Regions from separate parts of the Homo sapiens genome. Here region 2 is linked to region 1. Evidence: promoter capture Hi-C in human tissues and cell types (Jung and others, 2019). All regions are on one chromosome and are shown on one strand. Each heading gives the region's core, a stretch centred on a gene start or on the middle of the fragment in contact. The rest is flanking DNA. Distances are from core to core; before and after follow the strand shown. Region 1 holds the start of ANKRD10 (ankyrin repeat domain 10). Region 2 overlaps TUBGCP3 (tubulin gamma complex component 3).

Region 1 (2,983 bases), core at 240-2,739:
ACTGCTTTCCAAAAGACACAGCTGCTTTGTGAATGTAGCACCAGGGGCAGCAAGGTAAACCGCAACTTCATCAGCTGGTAACGACATTACCAGGGCCAGGCCTTCTTAAAGTAACTTATTTCACATTACCTCTCACATATTTCTGCAAAACCATTTAACCCCATCTCATCACTTACGAGAAAAACACTATACACATCCCTGAATTTCAGTGAATTAAGAAATATTAATTAAAACCAGTCACTTCTGAAATGCACGGTGAAATCTTATTTAAGATTTCTGAGAGCAAGTACCCCAACGACTTCACAGATGAGGAAACGGTAGCTATCCAACCTTTTAAAACCTTAAAGCAGCACTGTGTTCCCCCAGAATTTTCAGTTTAAGAAAAAAGAGGGGAACGTAAAGCCTCCACGGGAAGAGAATTCTGCTTAATTTAACCACTTCTGCAGTAATTTAGATCCAAGATAAACACAGCCGTCACTAATTTTGCTGAAGCGGGGCCAGCTACAAGCCTTAAAGCAAACCCAGAAGCTGGAGAGCCGGCCTCCATCCCACACAGCTGCCGGGGCCTTCCAGTCCCGCCGGGGCGCTTGCTCCTCGGCTGAGCTCGTCCGCAGCGCGGCCCTCGGCTACTGGCGAGGCTGTGCGGAACCAGAAGGTCGACCGCGCCCGGGCATTCCCCGCGCGCCTCTGACCCCAGCTCGGCTCCCCGGAAGCCGCCTGGGCGACTTCGCGGCCTAATACCCGGCTCTGCGAAATCGCTCGCGCCTCCGGCCCGGCCTGGAGGGCCCCGCACCATCCGCGCGCGCGCGCGCTCGCACAGGATCCGGCCAACAGGCGCCGGGACCCTTGGAGCCCGCCTTGTTAGAAACTTGCTACGCGCGCCGCCGCACATGCGCCCTAGGCCCCTCCGGACGCAGGCGCCACCGACCTCGCTTCCGCCCCGCGCCCCCCGGCTGCCCCGCCGCGACTCCGGGCCGCGAGCGCTGCCGCACAGGCGCCCTAGGCCCCTCGGGGCACAGGCGCCGTCGATCCCGCTTCCGCCCCGCGATCCCGGCACGCCCCACGTCCCCCGCACCTCAGACCCGCTTTCCCCGACTCCCACTGGACAGCCGGGGAAAATGGCGCCTTAAAGCGTTCGCACCCACCTTGCCGAAATGCGCGGCCCAGTGCACGGGCGTCCAGCCATAGAAGGAGTCCTCAGAGGCCAGGTGGGCGTGGGGTGTCTGCTGCAGCAGCGAGCAGAGCGTGGCCAGGTCCCCGTCGCGGCAGGCGCGGTGCAGCGGGAAACGGAGCGAGAGCAGCTCCTCGCTGGAGAAGCCCGCCTCTACGCCCGCGCCCGCTCCCGCCGCCGACATGGTCCGTCACCGGAGAGCGCGGGGCTCGCTGGCCTAGAGGACGCGTCGGGGAGGACTCGAGAAGCCGCCGCCGCAGCACAAAGGAACGAGACTAGCGCCGCGGTCGCGTCCCACAGGCTGCCGAGCGGAGCGCGCACAGAGGGGGCGGGGCGGGGCCTGGAGCGGCCGGGCTGGGGGCGGGGCCTGGCCCAGAGGACGCCTTGTGCAGCCGGGCAGGGGTCGGGGCCTGGAGCCGCGGACCTCTGGAGCCGCCGGGCAGGGGGCGGGGCTTGAGCCGGAGGCCGCCTGGAGCAGCCGGGCGGAGGGCGGGGCTTGGAGCTGCGGACGCCTGGAGCGGCCGGTAGGTGGCGGGGTCTAGCCTAGAGGATGCCTGGAGCAGCCGGGTAGGGAGCGGAGCCTGGACCAGAGGACGCCAGCAGCAGCCGATTAGGAGGCGGGGCATGGGGCTGTCGACGTCTGGAGCAGCCGGGCATTGGGCTTGGGCTAGAGGACGCCTGGGGCGGTGGGCGCCTGGAGTAGCCAGGCAGAGGGCGGGGCCTGGCTTGGGTCCACGCCTGGGGCGGCCGGGGGCGGGGCCTGGCTGGAATTGACGCGTGGAGCTCCGGTGGAGGGGGCGGGGCCTGGCTGGGCCGCTGCCTACAGCGGCTTCCGGGGCTTGGAGGTCACGGGGCTCGGAGGTCACGGGGCTCGGAGGTCACGGGGCTGGCTGTGTGGGGGGCTCAGGGGCGTAGAGTGGCCAAGCAGCGGTCTGAGCGGGTCCCGGGGCCTCCGGCGCGGTGGGTCTCGGCTGCGCCCCGGGTGCGGACCATGATGTTTCCAGCCTGGGAGCCGGTCCGGGCGGGGAATCCCGGCTGCCGGGGGCGCGGGTTGAGGCTCTGCGGGCCCGCGCCCAGAGCGGGTGGGAGTCACGGGTCTCCCGGAGGCCCAGTAGCGCGCGGTGAAGTTGTCCAGTAAAAATTTATGGAGCGCCTACGGGGAGCAGGGATTCTCGTTAAAATCTGGGAATCAGCAAGCCCTAGTTCCTTACAGAGCAGGACAGATTCCTCGGTTTTGTCCGAGGGACGCCTTCTTCGGAACCGAGTGCGGTGGGCTAGGACTATACGTTTGCAAGTTTAAGAGATAAGCGAGAAGACCAGACAGAGCAAACAATAAAAGGCTTTTTGTTGAGAACTGTATAAATGTAAGGGAGTACCAAATCCCCTATTTTGAATGACAGTATCACGGACTTTATTACATATGTAATTTTATTCTGATTATGAAAGCATCAGTAATTTCACTATTGAGGAATAACCACAATGTTTATGAATATTTCCTTTGCTTCTAAATATGCGGTCTTTTTAAATCATGTATTTTATTTCATTTGTATATATAGTTTTTCGCTGTGTAAACTTCCTTTTTGCAAAATTCTACGTCACAAATTGAACAAGGCAATTAGATGTCTAGGGAAGTACTGATGCACGAGAAAGCATATTGCAGCATTGGTTAATAAAACGAAAAAATAGAAACCTAAGATTTAACAAAGGGAAGTTGTTAACTAGTGGTGTAAACACTCAACACAGACATGTCTTCATACAGCAAACATTTGTTGAGTACAATGCTGAATGAAACACATTGAGAAACACTCTATA
Region 2 (3,229 bases), core at 68-2,567, 1.7 Mb after region 1:
TCTCATGAACTAAAAACCCCTGCTAGCTTCTAACTTTTCTTCTGCAGCTTCCTCACCTCTCTCAGCCTTCACAGAATTAAGGTCTTGCTCAAGATTAGGTTTTGGCTTAAAGGAATGCTGTGGCTGGTTTGATCTTCTATCCAGACCACTCAAACTTTCTCCATATTAGCAATAAGGCTGTTTCAATTTATTACTCTTGTGTTCACTGGAATAGCATTTGTAATTTCCTTCAAGAACTTTTCCTATTCAATCACAACTTGACTAACTGGCATAAGAGGCCTAGCTTCTCGCGTATCTCAGCTTTTGGCATGCCTTCCTCACCAAGCTTAACCATTTCTAGCTTTTGATTTAAAGTGAGAGGCATGTGACTCTTCATTTCACTTGAACACTAATTTCTTTTATTATTATTTCTTCTAAAAAACAAAAAGCGGGATACATGTGCAGAACGTGCAGGTTTGTTACACAGGTACACGTGTGGCAGGTTTGTTACATAGGTATACGTGTGCTGTGCTGGTTTGCGGCACCTAATGACCCGTCCTCTAAGTTCCCGCCCCTCACCCCCCACCCTCCAACAGGCTCTGGTGTGTGTTGTTCCCCTCTCTGTGTCCATGTGTTCTCACTGTTCAACTCCCACTTATGAGTGAGAAGGTCATGTTTGGTTTTCTGTTGATCACTAATTTCACTTAAACAGTAAGAGGTCACTGTAAGGCTATTAACTGGCCTAATTTCAATATTGTTGTGACTCAGGAAATAGGGAGGCCTGAGGAGAGAGGGTGAGACAGGGAACAGCTGGTCGGCAGAGTAGTCAGAACATACACAACACTTTTTGATTAAGTTTGCGCACTTCATGGCACCCCAAAACAATTACAACAGCAGCATCAAAGATCACAAGTTACACATCAACGTAACAGATGTAATAATCATGAAAAAGTCTGAAATACTGTGAGAATTTCCAAATATGACACAGAGATACAAAGTGAGCACATGCTGTTGGAAAAATGGTACCTAAAGACTTGCCCAACGCAGGGTGCCAAAAACTTCCAATTGTCAAATAACGCAGTATCTGTAAAGGACAATAAGATGACGTGTGCCTGTCCTCCACAAGGAAGCTCAGCACTGGGCAAATGCTGCCCTAGCCAAGACCTTCCGACAACTCCACTCTTAAAGATGAAAAGAACAGGTATCGCCAGATACCTGAGGGCATCATCTAAAACAAAAAGGAGACAAACACAAGAAGGAAAAAAGGAAACTCTAAGAAAAAGTAACAACGTAGGGAATAAGAAAATGGGGGCAAGATGTACAAAAACAAGCTATAATGGCCTACGAGATTAGACATAACACATCCATGAAACAAAACAGTATGCCATAAATTCAGAGAAGACAAGCTCTTGAATATTAAAAGTATGAAGGCAGATGTTTTTTAAAATAAGTAGAAAGCTTGTATTTAAAGTTGAAGAAGTCTCTCAAAAACTAAAACAAAAAGGCAAAAAGATGGAAATTACGACAGCCAAGACAAGGAAATCACCAGATCAGCCCAGGCAGAAGTGGGGAGGGAGAAACCTGGAGTGGAATAAATGTCCAAAGAAGTCATACAAGACAGAAAGGATGAGAAGGGAAGGGCCTTGGAAGTTACATGGTTCACAGCAACTGCCTTAGCCCCAGGAAAAAATCCAGGCTCTCATCTCTGCAGAGGCAAACTCCCAATCTGAGGAACTCCCACCCTCAGTACAAGGGATCTGGGAGAAGAATGTTCCCCACTACAATCTCAGCAGCAAAAGAACGTCAAGGGTCAGGAAGAAATCTTTCAGAAAGCCTCCACCTTCCGAAAGCAATCACTTCAATAAGTGGATTGGAGCTGGTGCCAGGGTGGGATAGCCTGCCTGTCTGCCCAACTTCTATGACTCTAGAAGTCAAGTTACCAGTAGATACCTCCAGATCCCCCCACCCCCACCACTGAGTGCTGGGCCCAGTTCAACCCGGGATGCAGAGGAGCAGCCCAACAGGGCAGTGCCCAGCTGCATCTGCCAGCAAAAGCCAACACTGTTCTCCATCCTAGGAAGGAAGTGGAACTATGAGTGGCACCTGGAAATTCAAGTGGGCACTCTGAGCTCAGTATGGCTTCCTCTGCCCAATCCGCAGAGAATCTTTAAGTGAGCACTCTGAGCTCACAGTGTGGCTTCCCCTGCCCAATCCACAGAGAATCTTCAAGTGGGCACTCTGAGCTCAGTGTGGCTTCCCCTGCCCAATCCACAGAGAATCTTCAAGTGGGCACTCTGAGCTCACAGTGTGGCTTCCCCCTGCCCAATCCACAGAGAATCTTCAAGTGGGCACTCTGAGCTCACAGTGTGGCTTCCCCCTGCCCAATCCACAAAGAATCTTCAAGTGGGCACTCCACGCTCACAGTGTGGCTTCCCCTGCCCAATCCACAGAGAATCTTCAAGTGAGCACTCTGAGCTCAGTGTGGCTTCCCCCTGCCCAATCCACAGAGAATCTTCAAGTGGGCACTCTGAGCTCAGTGTGGCTTCCCCTGCCCAATCCACAGAGAATCTTCAAGTGGGCACTCTGAGCTCACAGTGTGACTTCCCCTGCCCAATCCATAGACAATCCAAAATCCCCAGAAATGTAACAAAGGATTTAAGGAAGATATAAACAAAACCAGAAAAGTGGATCTAAGAAGAGCACTCTTGGTGAAACAGAAACTGAAGAATCCCTGAAAGATGTAAAGAAAACAAACAGGATTGACTTGAAAGAAGAAACTAGAGACAGAAGTCATCTCCGTCAAGACAGAGTAAGCACACTCCACTACTGATGACAATGTAAAACTCTGGCAAAAATACATAAAACACCTCCAATCAGACTCTGAACAATGGGTAAGAGAAGCAGACTGGGTATGAAACTGATGAATCAAAGGAAATCCTGGAATGACTTCCCCCATTTTTGCTTTTTGATATTTTCTTTATCTGTTTGCTGTTTACTGCACCAGCTGGGGCTGGGTAACACTCCAAAACCCAAACCACAAACAGGCAAAGACAGAAAAACCTCCGAGCCAGGCCCAGTCTCCCCAGCCAGGGCCCAGGTGGGGAGGGAGGGAGGAAGCACCACAGCTCTCCCAGCCCTGCGCCAGGCTACCAGCCCCTTCTACCTTCAGGGGCACCCCCGCAGTGGGCTGCCCCATTCCACACTTGACAAGAACCAATAATGGCCCCAAAACTCCATCACAAGGCTGGCA

The links. Contacts are between HindIII fragments. The study calls those that stand out against the background at their distance.
Region 2: a fragment that was not itself captured here is called in contact with the fragment with the promoter of ANKRD10 in region 1 in 1 of the 25 tissues and cell types used here (lymphoblastoid cells).

What each region holds. Positions count from the first base shown.
Region 1 is chr13:110,913,580-110,916,562 of GRCh38, forward strand. It overlaps ANKRD10 (ankyrin repeat domain 10), which reads right to left and starts at 1,490. Exons shown (of 6, transcript NM_017664.4): 1 at 1,146-1,490. The coding sequence starts at 1,355. RefSeq lists enhancers at 102-778, 502-631, 2,130-2,804 and silencers at 742-1,111, 1,382-2,041, 2,172-2,331. The HindIII fragment of the contact is 23,501 bases long and covers 1-2,983 here.
Region 2 is chr13:112,571,863-112,575,091 of GRCh38, forward strand. The region is part of intron 1 of TUBGCP3 (tubulin gamma complex component 3); the gene reads right to left. Among named protein-coding and RNA genes, the nearest start is that of TUBGCP3, 15 kb to the right of the region's middle. The HindIII fragment of the contact is 4,851 bases long and covers 1-3,229 here.